Linked DNA regions of Homo sapiens: region 1 is linked to region 2. The links are contacts of gene promoters, found by promoter capture Hi-C in human tissues and cell types (Jung and others, 2019). All regions are on one chromosome and are shown on one strand. Each heading gives the region's core, a stretch centred on a gene start or on the middle of the fragment in contact. The rest is flanking DNA. Distances are from core to core; before and after follow the strand shown. Region 1 overlaps CARMIL3 (capping protein regulator and myosin 1 linker 3). Region 2 holds the start of ACIN1 (apoptotic chromatin condensation inducer 1).

Region 1 (5,742 bases), core at 1,980-4,479, 960 kb before region 2:
GACAGGATAATGTGGGGTGGAGGGCGTGCCCGAGCCAGGCCAGGCTGCAGAAGAAGCCTTACCAGGCTCTTGTGGGAATGGTAGAGCTCTTGCAGGATCTCATCCACTATGGAGCTGGTTAGGTAGGTGACGACTGAGAGCTTCACTTCACTGTGGGCACAGGTGGGGCTACTCAGAACATTAGCACCTCAGTCCCCCGCATGGCCCCTGAGGCACTCCCTCTCCCAGAAGCCTGAGAGAACGGCCAGCTGGCCTGGTCTGTCTGCCCATGGAGCGCATGTGGCTGCTGAAGGAGGCAGCCTAGCCCTTGACACTCATTTCTCCACAAATACACGTCTAGTCCCACCCCAGAGCCCCCAGCCCAACTATGTGTGGGGAAAGAGGAATTCGAGGAGAAGGAGCAAGGGGGCCCTAGGTCAGGCCCCTGGAGCCCCAGTGGAACAGAGCTAGGTAATTGGGGTGCTGAGTAACTAAACCCTGCTAGTTGCTACTGTGAGGGTAGGAAAGACCCTTCCTTGGGCCTAGCTGTTTCATAGGTATGTGTACTAGTTTTCCTTTGGTTTGGTGAGTGGTGGCACCCAGACCCAGAATGAAAGAACTCTAGGGGCAATGAAAACTGGGAGGAAGACAGTGCTTCCATGCACCCAACTCAGGTACTTTTCTTTGTCCATGCCTCCGAGGAGGCCCTGCTATCCCATTCCTGGTGTATTTGTGTGGGTATGTGTGTGTACACCTGTGTGGGCACAAACTTGGCTCCTAAACCCCAGCTCAGCACTTAGATTTCTAGGGCAAAGACCAGCCAGACCCTAAATAGCAAGGTTGCACTTGGTTAAAGATTGATCCTTGTAATGGAGATTGTGCCATTCATTATTCATTGCTGATAGCTCTCCAGTCCTAAGTCCCTAAGTGATCTGGGCCAAATCCAGCTCAGCCCCAGCCCTGCCCTTTGCCTCTCACTCCAGCTTGTTCTGAATGTCCTGTCCTGCTTGCTCCAGCAGTGCCCCTCGGATGAAGTTCCGGGGCACAGTGACACGCTCCGCCACATTGCTCAGCATCTTGTTGTGTCCCTCGGCCACCCGCATGGCCACAGGGCATAACTCCTGTGTCAGGCTGACCATGGACTCCAGGATCACCTAGTATGGGGGAAAGGGAGGCCAGAGGCCCAAGGGGGACAGGATCAGGGCTGGCACCACAGCAGAAGAGACTTTATCTATTCCAGCCCCTCCTGCTGAGACTGAGGGACCTGCCTAAGTCACAAAACTGTTAGTGGCAGAGCCTTGGACACTAAGGCTTCCCCACTTTCTGGTCAGTGCTCCTTCCACCCTACCATACAGACAGGGGCAGTCAGTCCAAGGATCCAAATCCAGAGCAGGGAGGTCAGAGTTCAGGGACCAACATCAAAGCTAGCAGAAAAAAATCCAAGCCTGATATTGCAGCAATGCCTTGGTACAGTGGGAGCGTGGGTGGTCTCAACTCTGCATGTCCTCCTGGCCCTCCAGAAGTCTCCCAGCTCTGACTTTAGCTCTGGGCTTAGGGCCTCAGTCAACACTAGGTTCCCACCATGGATTCCTCCCTCCTCCAGGACTTGCCTGCAGCTCCTTGTCCACAGCTTTGGACACCTCACTTGCTACTGATTCCAGCCTCTGCCGCACAGGCCCATCATTGGCCAGCACGTGGCCCAGCTCATAGAGGCTGGGAAACAGCTGGAGAAGGAAGGGGTTATGATTAGCAGGCCAGAACCAGGACTTGCTAGGTCTCTGGGGTCCCTGGGCTAGGAAGGCAGATGCACAGGGCAGGGCTGTCATGGCTTAGCATGGTCGGCCTTCTTGGGTTCTCCAGACTTCAGGGGAAGGGTAGCCTGTGGAGGGCTCACCGCCCGGGAGTTCTTGGCATCTTTGATGAGGTCCCGAGCGTAGAGTAGCTCATCCTGCACAGGCTCCAGGGGGCATAGTCTCAGGGCCCGCACCTCCTCCTGCACTCGTCCACACAGCCGCTGCAGCATCTGGAGCACAGTGGCAGGGGTGTCAAGGGGACCCCTGCTTCCACATCTTCGCAGGTAGGACCCCTTAGACAGTGCTACTGGTGCTGGCACCGACAGTGGTGGAGGTGATGTCTCTGGCTGGCCTGGTCCCCATTGCTACAGCCTTCTTGAATGCCCAGCTGAGCTCCCAGAGTCCTGTGCACTCCTGCTGTTCGCCCACATATGTTTGAAGCCCATATCCTGCATGTCCTCTCTTTTTGCTTCCCCACATGCTCAGTCCAGTGATAGGCACCATGCAGTGCCTCTTCATGCTCCCCCACTCAATTTTCCATCACATCACACTGTGCCCTGCATGCCCCGGGTATGCCCCGTGTCCCAGAGGGAAACGTTTACTTGCTCGGCGCTGCTGGTCACCAGGCCCTGCTGCAACCTGAAGGCCTGCTCCTGGGGGCACGTCTGGGAGTGGTTGTTCCTCACTAAGCACCATTGGATCTGGAGATGATGGGGTTGGTGGGTCAGGGCCTGGGGATGGGGGCTGCCCCCTGCCCCTTGCTGTGCCACCCTGCTTAGGACAGCACCCTGCACCTTCTGCCAGACGTCCTCGGTGCGCTCAGGCGCGCTGCGATAGGCTTGGGAGATGTCGCTCACGGGGAAGGACATGAAGCGCAGCGTGTGGTTGCTGTGGGACACAGGGGCACAGCTGGGTGGGAACAGGTGAGGATGGGAGGCCCCTGCCTCCTCTGTTGGTGAGCAGCCCTCCAGCCCCCTTGCTCATCATTTCTGTCTTCCATGGCCCTTCCTAAAATTTCTGTGCAAATAGGTCAAAGGGGCTAGGGTGGGGCAAGAGTAGTTCAGGCCTGATCCAGGCACAGGGAGGCTGGGGACTTGGATCAGGGCAGGACCATGGTCTACTCACCTCTCCAGGGCCCTTGCGATGTCCAGGAAGCCCAGGGCAGATGTATTGTTCCGATCCCATAGGATAGTTCTGGGGGGAGGGTAAGCACCAGTTTGGCACCTCTCCTCCTGGGTCCCTACTAGGGGCCAGGGACACAAACCTCTTGGGGCAATAAGGCTGACTCAGAGATGGTTCTGGGGCTGGGGGTCTTCTGGAAGCTGGGGTCCAGAGCATCAAGGAAAGCAGGGAGATTATGTACATATGGGGAGGGGCTGGGGCTCCAGGTCAGGGGGTCCCGGTGTGGGCCCCACCTGAGGGAGGAGTTTATCTGCAGGGCCTTAGACAGCATCTTGGCCCCGATGTCCTCCATGCCATTGCCGCTCAGATCCACCTTGGCCAGGCAGGTGTTGCTGCCCAGGGCATTGATGAGGATGCTGGTGCGAAGCTTCAGCCGGGAGTCTGCCACCGACAGTGACTGCAGGGACTGTGTGGGCAAGGGGCGGTTGGACCCAGTCCCCACAGCCTCCTCCGACTGCAGGTCCCCTCCCAGGCCCAGGCACTCACACAGTCCTCTTCCTGGATCAGCTGCACCAGCTTGTGGAGGATCTCCTCCAGGGTCCTGCAGGGAGGCGGGGCTCAGAGTAGGAGGGGAAGGGCTGGGGTCATGCTATTGGAGGAGGAGAGAGGTGGCCAGAGGTAATACGGTGAGCCAAGAGGATGGGTGAATGATGGGATGAGGGTCTGTGGGCATGGAAAGGGGGCCTCACTTGGCCTTGACATTGAAGTTCTTGCCCAAAAACAGGTGCTTGAGGGACTTGTTCTTGCCAAGTGCAGGCACCAGTGTCAGGAGGTCCGAGTCGAACCCTGGTGAGCAGATGGGAGAGGCCTGGCCTGGAGGCCTGAGGCTGACTGGTGTCCCATCAGGGCTGCTTCTGCATGCTCCAGGCCCCTGTTCTCCCCTGGCCCCAGGGAAGGGAGGAACCACTACTCACCATTGTCTGACAGATCCAGGCTGCCTACACAGGTGACAGCTCCCAGCTGCTCCTGCAAGGCTTGGGCTCCCGCTGAACGGAGCTGCAGGGACAAGGTGAGGTAGGGAAGGCAGGGGTTGGGGTGGGGGTAGGGCACCTTTAATGCTTAGGATATAGTAGTCACACCAGAACTCAAAGTCATGCCAGGATCTGGGTGTAAAATCAGGGAGACTCTTTCCCCACACCAGATCCTTCCCTAGAGCTGGCTTCCCTCCCTTCGGCCAGGAAGGCTGCTATTCCTAAGACAGCTTGCTCCTGCCCTCTGGTGGAAAAGTCTGGTATCTCCCACCCCAAAGCTTTAAGGGCAGAGATACTAGAGACTGAGAATGAATGGCCTCTGGAAAAGAGGCCAGACTGAGAGGGGAAAGTGGTGGTGTGGCCAGGTCAGGGGGTCGCAGAGGGTCAGCACAGAGGCTAGATGGAGCCAGGGTTTGACTTAGGTCTGAGAAATGCACATGGATCGGAGGCGGGCAGAGGGGTTGGGGACTGAGGGCTCACCTCGCAGCTGCTGAGATCCAGGTGCAGGTCACTGAGGTGACTGTTGAGGGAGAGGCCCTGAAGCAGCGCCCTGTGGGAGGGAGGTCAGCAGGCCCTCCTTTACCTCTTCCCGCTCCCCGTGGTTCCCTTGGATGCGCCCCCAACCCTGCACCCACCCGACCTGAGGGCCTCCAGGGGCAGCTTTGTGGCCGACAGATTGACGTGGCTCAGTGTGTAGGCGCTGCTGAAGAACTGCTTGAAGGCCGGCGGGGCCTCTCGACCCTTCCTGTGGAGAGACCCCTGGGGTCAGCGAGGGAGGGGGTTGGCCATGTCTTGCCCTGTCCTCCCTTCCCCCTCCTCTCCCACCTGTGGGAGCAGCTGTTGCGAGCCAGGTTGAGGTAGGTGAGGTGGGAGCAGCAGCCGTGGAGCAGGGCACCGAGAAGCTGTGGGGGGAGATATGGTGGGTCTCAGGGGAGCTGGAAGGGGGTAGGGGGTGGCAGGAAAGGACTCCCCCTCCCTCCCCATCGAGGTTCCTGGCTCTTCATTCTCTGTGGTCAGCCTGTGTGAGCTCCACTGGAGATGCCCACTCAGATTCTTGAAGTCTCTGTTTTCTCCCCTGTGGAACATGGGTCTACTCCCTGCCTGGCTTCCAGGGGCATGAAGCTGCTCACAGGCAGTGGATGTGTAAAGCCAGGGCCACCACTGACTCCTAAGGTGCCTTGTTCAAGTTAGGAAAAGCATCCATTCCCCTGGTGGAGCCAGGGTGCACAGCTGGGGAAGGGAGCAAGGGCTGGCTTTTAAGCACAGCAAGCACAAGCTTGTGACCTGGATAAAGTGCCACACAGGTATGAACTATGGACATTGCTTTATACTTCAGCTGAACCTGAAGTCATCTAGACAGCTCTGCCCGCCTGTGTACTCAGGGATAGGGGGTGAGACCGAGGCCCACTGTGGTCTTCCCCAAATCACCTCAGACTGGCTTCCCATCACCAACTCCTCACCAAGTCGATGACGCAGTCAGTTCCTGACAGGTCCAGGTGCACCAGGGCGTTGGGTTGGGCCAGGAAACTGTAGAGGGCCTGGAGTAGGAAGGAAGAGGGGTTGCAGGGGAAGGGATGATGGAGTCTCGCCACCCCCAGAGGCCATGGGGCAGAAGGCCTCCCAGCTCCTGAAGCTTAAGCATGCTTTCTGCAGGGGGCTGAGGCTGTTCTGAGGACTCACATTGGCCTCATCCGTGGCGAGGAGCCCAGGATTCTTGCTCAGGTCCAGGTATCGAAGGGAGCTGGCAAATGCTGGGTTTGCCCCGAAGGTCTGGCCGAGTGCCTGGAGCCCTGAGCACAGCGGGCACTGGGCTGGGT
Region 2 (6,473 bases), core at 2,650-5,149:
AGCAAACTTACAGAATAGGAACACCTGCTACCAGTTCCAAGAATATCACATACATATGCCTTAGAAAAAGGCCAGGTATGATGGTTCATGCCTGTAATCCCAGCACTTTGGGAGGCCAAGGTGAGAATGGATCGCTTGAGGCCAGCAGTTCAAGACCAGACTAGAAAACGTAGCATGACCCCTGTATCTACAGAATAATTTAAAAATTAGCCAGATATTGTTGTGCGGGCCTGTAGTCCTAGATACTCAGGAGACTGAGGCAGAAAGATTACTTCAGCCTAGAATTTGAGGTTACAGTGATCTCACGCTCACTGATGATCATGCCACTGCACTCCAAACTTAAGTGACAACCCATGTTTTTAAAAAAAAAAAAAAGTCACCGCGAGTTCGATTCAAACAGTGTGAAGGAGGAAGCAACTAATTATCTCCCTCTCCTGATTTTTCATAATTTTATTAAATCATCACTGGGAAAACTAATGGTTTGCGTATCACACAATTACACTACAATCTGATAGGAGTGGTAAAACCAGCCAATGGAATCCAGGTAAAGTACAAAAACGCCACCTTTTATTGTCCTGTCTTATTTCTCGGGAAGGAGGGTTCTACTTTACACATTTCATGAGCCAGCAGTGGACTTGAGTTACAATGTGTAGGTTCCTTGTGGTTATAGCTGCAGAAGAAGCCATCAAATTCTTGAGGACTTGACATCTCTCGGAAAGAAGCAAACTAGTAGACTGATGAGCTGGATTGCTTAGATTGATAACATTTACAAATAGGAGTCCAGTTGACATGCTATTAATGTTGAAATAACCATGCCTGTACTGGTCAGTGAGTTCGGTCAGCTGGTTGGAATACCAGTTCCAGAGCTTTAGGCGACACATTTGAATTGAGTTATCATTGTAGAGAGTCATGGCTCCATCAGCTATGGTTATCTTCTTTGGTCTGAATGCCTATCAGTCCTTACCAGCTGTAGCAGCCACTGCTTGGTAAAACTTTGCCACGAAGTCTGGCTCACTGAACTCCAGCTGTCTGACAAATTCATTGCGCTCCTGCTCAGCCCAGCCTCGAAACCACTGATCCCAAAGATGTAGCTGGCACTCAAAGATAGAAGGTGGTCGGTCTGCCCCAGACACACTAAGCTGCTCCAGACTATCCAGCAGTGGTTGTAATTTTTCTGGCACTGCCTTAGCTACCAGGTCCTCTAGGAAACGTTCACGCTGGGGACCTGACCAATTGGCAAACCAGTGAAGAATACACTTCATCTCCTGGGAGGTGATGTAAGACATCAGAGGAGGGGAAGGGTTAGTATTGTGTGGTACTGAGGGTAAGAGAGATGGGAAGGATAGTGGCATTGAAGAGGATGACTCCAGTGGCATCCTGAAACATAAAAGCACTGTTATATGCTCTCCAGGTAGAGCAACGAAAATACAACTTTCAAGCAACAAGACATCTTACCACACTCAATTAGCATCTACAGAGAAAATTACTTTTTATGAATTCAAAGACCCAAAATAATAAGAGTCCTTTATTTAGATTATTATCCAACTACCTTAGAAAAATCACCAAAAATAACTTCATTTCCTATTTGCCTGCCTTTTTCAAACCCATTCTTCCCCACCCACTGTCTTCCTCCATCTTTCTTATAAAGAACCTAAAAATAACCAATATATTTCTTGTTCATTCTCTTCCTCTTACTTCTATGTGCCAGGTTGGGTAAAGAAAAAAACAATGATTAATGTTGGTCCATTACATCTTCTCCAAAATGAAAATGCACACATTTTAAAATCTAGTACGTGCAGCTGGTCAAGGCTGATGCTAATTGTTTTGCAGCTATCAACAGTGGGGGAAGAAAGAAAAAACATTATTTATGATGAAAGAGCCTTCAATGTGCATATAAGCCTCTGAAATATGCCAACAACTCCATAACATCCGTTACCTCCTTACATTTCCTGTAAAGCACCAGGAAAAGTTAAAAAGCAGAGTAAGGACCTTGCTCAAAATAAGGTAACGCATGAAAGAACCAGAAGCCCGGGTGTTTGAGACGTTCTTAAAAAAGAGTCCAGTTGGTTTGTTGGCTTAGAGATCTAACAAGTGTTATACTATTTTATGACAATCCATGTCTTTAAACAATTGTCCTTAATATTTAGTATGGGCCAGACGCGGTGGTTCTTGCACTTCCAAAGTAATCTCAGCACTTTGAGAGGCCGAGGCAAGAGGATCGCTTGAGCCCAGGTGTTCGAGACCAGCCTGGGCAACATGGCAAAACCTCATCCCTACAAAAAATAAAAAAATTAGTTGAGCGTAGAGGTGCCTACCTGTAGTCCTAGCTACGTAGGAGACTGAGGTAGGAGCATCACCTGAGCCCGGGAGGTTGAGGCTGCAGTGAGCCCTGATCGCGCCACTGCACTCCAGCCTGCGTCAGAGTGGAGGGACCCAGAGTGGAGTGACAAAAAAAAAATTTTTTTTTTTTTTTAGTATGGTATCTATTGGTGCCTTGCAATTTTTTTTTTTTTTTTTTTTTTTTTTGAGACGGAGTCTTGCTCTGTCACCCAGGCTGTAGTGCAATGGCGTGATCTCAACCACTGCTTCCTGGGTTCAAGCGATTCTCCTGCCTCAGCCTCCCGAGTAGCTGGGACTATAGGCGTACGCCACCACGCCCGGCTAATTTGTTTGTATTTTTAGTAGAGACGGGGTTTCACCATATTGGCCAGACTGGTCTCCAACTCCTGACCTCAAGTGATCCGCCCGCCTCGGCCTCCCAAAGTGCTGGGATTATAGGCGTAAGCCACCGCGCCCGGCACCTTGCCACTGATTTTGCATCATGAATGCAACGGAAAGATCAGCCAATTTGACTTTAATAGTTTTCAGTCTCTTAAATCTCTAACGTATCTCTTAAATCTCTAAACTATTTGTCTGTGACCTATTTTACTGTTTGTGTTTCTTCTGCATCAAGTTGGAGGATTGGTAGTGACAAAGAAAGAAGCCCCTAAACAATTAATATTAGTTCAAGTACCAAAAAAGTTCAGGGCGCTTGCATTTTCCAGTTCTTGCCCTACAGGAAGCAGTTCCTCCAAGGGAACTTACTCTCTTCTGCGGAGCAAGGAAGAACTTTCCCAGAATCTTGCCACATGGCTTCCAAGGCAAACTCAAACTCAAGTTCAGCGTCATAGATCAGTTCATAGTCTGGGTCCGAAGACACGGCGATGCTTCTTGCGCACCCCCACGGAGCTTGTTATTCCGATTCCGCACCAGCCCCCCGCCCCTCCCCAAAAAAAGCCTAAGATGGGAGTGGCTATGATTCAGAGGACAGAGGGCAGAAGCTGTTTGCGTTAAGGAGTGGGGGGCTTGCCCTATTAAGGTAATCCGCAAACACCGAGTCTGACCCGGCCCATAGAGGTACTTCTACCCCGCTTACCTCCCCTTTTCTCTCGAAGGGCACCCGAAGATTGTCACGAGTCCTTAGACTCCAACTACTGCGGCAGCTTCCAAATTTCCTGAAAACCCTAAGCTGGGCCAGCCCGGCAGCCCACGCACTTCCGGCCTCGGACCCGCCCCAAACACCCAAGCGCCCCAGCGCCTCATCTCTAGGTCCGGAAATAAACGAACATCTCCGATTATGGTTATACCAGGGTCGAGGGTTTCCGAATATATTCGATTCAAAGCTTCGGCAAGACGAAGAAAACCGAGCCTGAAAGCAGGGCGAGAAAAGGGGCGCTGCAGGGCGGATGGAAAGAATTGATTGGTAACGATGTGGAGACGGAAACATCCGAGGACATCCGGAGGAACCCGGGGAGTTCTGAGTGGTAATCGAGGGGTAGAGTATGGCAGTGGGCGGGGTCATCTCGGTACGTTCGAAGGGCGTTGGCGGAAATTACCGAAGATGCCCGAAGCCGTCGGGACGGACCCGAGTACCTCACGCAAGATGGCGGAGCTGGAGGAGGTGACTCTGGACGGGAAGCCTCTTCAGGCGCTGCGGGTGACCGACCTGAAGGCCGCACTGGAGCAGCGAGGCCTAGCCAAGAGCGGGCAGAAGAGTGCCCTGGTCAAGCGGCTCAAAGGGGTGAGGAGTCGGCGTTGCTGGGGTGTCGGAGGAGAGCGGACCCGGTAGAGACGAGCCTCTGCCGCGGCGCAGGCGCAGTATCCGGGCTCGGCGCGAGCTCGCTCAGGCCGCCAGCGCGAGCCTCTGGATCCGCGCGCACGGTGGTTGATGAGGTTCGCGCTGGAATGGAGATCGCGCCGGTTCCCGCCTTAACGGCAGCAGCGCGAGCCCAAATGGGAGGGTGTGCACTACTCTCCAGGAGTGTCTTAAGCTCCTTCCTCCTTCCCCCACCCCCTCCTTGTTTGTATCTGTGGTTTCGGCGCATGCGCTGCAGAAGGAGTTAAATCCCACTACAACCTACGGCGTTGCTGGCCTGAGGGGGGCGAGTTGGGCTGGGTCGGAGTTAGGGGTATAGTTGCGCGAAGGGGTGGATGGGGTTGGTATCGGTATCTGCACGAATAGGACTGGGGTAGGGTAAAATGTCTGCTCGATTAGATGAGGAGGTGAGATGAAGAGAGACCTTTATTTGAAGGGACTTGATGAGAGAGAGGTCTCTAATTTAGTGGCATCTAGTGGCAATTTGGGTGGTTAAGAGTTTGGTGAATATTGGTGAGAGAGGCGAGGCAGGTTGATATATATTGGGGATTTTGAATCGGTTTGAGTAGATTAAGGTGGGATTGTCATGAGGTAGGTGTAGCTCGATTCAAGTGTATAGGTTTGGTTTAAAGAAGGGAAGATGAGGATGTCTTGGTTTTAATTAGAGTTCAACAGGATACGTGGCAGGTAGTGCAGATTAGGTCTGGGTTGGCTCCAGGGTTGAGTTGGCAGACCGTTGCTTATACAGAAGCTGATAGTTTTGTGTGTGTGTGTTTGTGTGTGTGTGTTTGTGTGGATAGACTAGGTTAGACCACAGTTTACAGGGTCTGTGGTCATTTTCTTCTGTAGCTTCCTCTTTGAAAATTTTATAAATTTGATAAATCTAGGTGCCACAGTACTGGAAATTATACAAATTGACCCTGGTACTGGGTAACCCTTTGACCAAGTAATTCCGTCAGGCAAAAACCAGGAGCCCCATGGCTGGTTTGAGTATTTTAAGTAATTTTACATGCATGATCAGATTTAGAAGGGGCACTTGGCGAAAGTGCAGAAGATAATAGGGATTTTAGTACTGGTTCTATTACTGATATTATGACATAGCCAGGTCACTGATTCTGTGTGCCTGCATTTTATATCTGTACATTTAGTAACAGTAACCATGGCTACCTTTATGGGTCTTCTGAAGATGAATGAGAACAGTGTTAGTAAAGGGTTTTCAGGTCCCTGGAAAAGGAATACAGTTTAATTGTGTGTATTTAAGTCATTGCGTTTAATTTAGAGGTTGTGGTAGAGGTGGGGGTTTGTTTTTCTTTTTTTTCCTCATCATTTCTGACTTTTACCCTTCTCTATACCAGGCTCTAATGCTAGAAAATTTACAGAAACACTCAACACCCCATGCTGCATTCCAGCCAAATTCCCAGGTGAGAAAGAAGGTGTATTCAATGGAGTGGGCCCTTTGGATATCCAGACACATGGAAGGACGTGGTGTTGTATATTTGATGCTTAAGTCCTCATGACTGTTTTCCTAAGTTCTCTTAGTCAGAAATGTTCTCAAACCAGGACAGTTGAATTCTAATCAACCCAGTTGTATACAAGGGCCTGGAGTAAAGAACAGAATCAGAGGCACTGTTAGTTTATAATAATTGAAATGGCATGTGTAGAAAGGTGTGGCTTCCATTAATTACGTGTAGTACAGAGATCTGAAGTCATTTATCTGCCATGAATTTAGGAAAGGTAGTTGATGTCTTTGAGTATAGATATGAAGTAGATCACCAATATGGCAGTGTAGGGAAATAGTTGCTGATTAAGAACTCTTGTTGATGTAGATTTTCCAAGGGTTCAATCCTGTGTAAGTCACCCACCATTACTAGTGTTAACTACTAACTCAGTGCACTTACTCATAAACATTACTAATACCTCTTTACTTAGGATAAGAAACAACCTTTGGAGGCCTTGGTCTTCTCCATTTCCTTATCTGTAATATGAGAAACAGACTAAACCCATGGGTTTATAACTGTTCTCTTAGGGTTTTGTGGAGCTGCTTTGGGGAGCTTCCTAGGGGAAATACCTTTTTCCCAAGTAAGCAAGGCTCATACTCCTCTCTTAAACTAGATTAGATCTACTTTTTAACTATTGAGTTTCTGCATAAAATTTTTAAATTATTCCACAGTTAAAATCCAAAAATTATTAGGCTGCACAGTCTCTTAAAGTTTCTTTCAGCTTTTAAAAATCCCCTCATTATAATGTGTCATATACTTAAAGGAAAAATCCAAGTCTTTGTTAAAGCAATAGTGTGCAGCCTCAGTACTAGATGAAGTCTCAGGATACTGTGGAAAAC

The links. The method cuts DNA at HindIII sites, captures the fragments that hold promoters and counts their contacts. A contact is called where the count stands out against the background at its distance.
Region 1: a fragment that was not itself captured here is called in contact with the fragment with the promoter of ACIN1 in region 2 in 1 of the 25 tissues and cell types used here (hippocampus).

Annotation. Positions count from the first base shown.
Region 1 is chr14:24,056,888-24,062,629 of GRCh38, reverse strand. CARMIL3 (capping protein regulator and myosin 1 linker 3) reads right to left here. Exons shown (of 40, transcript NM_138360.4): 13 at 5,606-5,715; 14 at 5,386-5,463; 15 at 4,751-4,827; 16 at 4,566-4,670; 17 at 4,406-4,475; 18 at 3,869-3,950; 19 at 3,644-3,740; 20 at 3,441-3,495; 21 at 3,188-3,360; 22 at 2,898-2,966; 23 at 2,567-2,660; 24 at 2,375-2,473; 25 at 1,874-2,002; 26 at 1,590-1,703; 2 more. Among named protein-coding and RNA genes, the nearest start is that of CARMIL3, 7.8 kb to the right of the region's middle. The HindIII fragment of the contact is 4,302 bases long and covers 1,079-5,380 here.
Region 2 is chr14:23,092,562-23,099,034 of GRCh38, reverse strand. It overlaps ACIN1 (apoptotic chromatin condensation inducer 1), which reads left to right and starts at 3,899. Exons shown (of 19, transcript NM_001386863.1): 1 at 3,899-4,060; 2 at 5,491-5,556. The coding sequence starts at 3,923. C14orf119 (chromosome 14 open reading frame 119) reads right to left here and starts at 3,530. Exons shown (of 2, transcript NM_017924.4): 1 at 3,416-3,530; 2 at 1-1,377. The coding sequence starts at 1,376. The coding sequence ends at 954. RefSeq lists enhancers at 3,096-3,619, 3,499-3,708, 3,729-3,808, 3,620-4,143, 3,849-4,158. The HindIII fragment of the contact is 4,223 bases long and covers 928-5,150 here.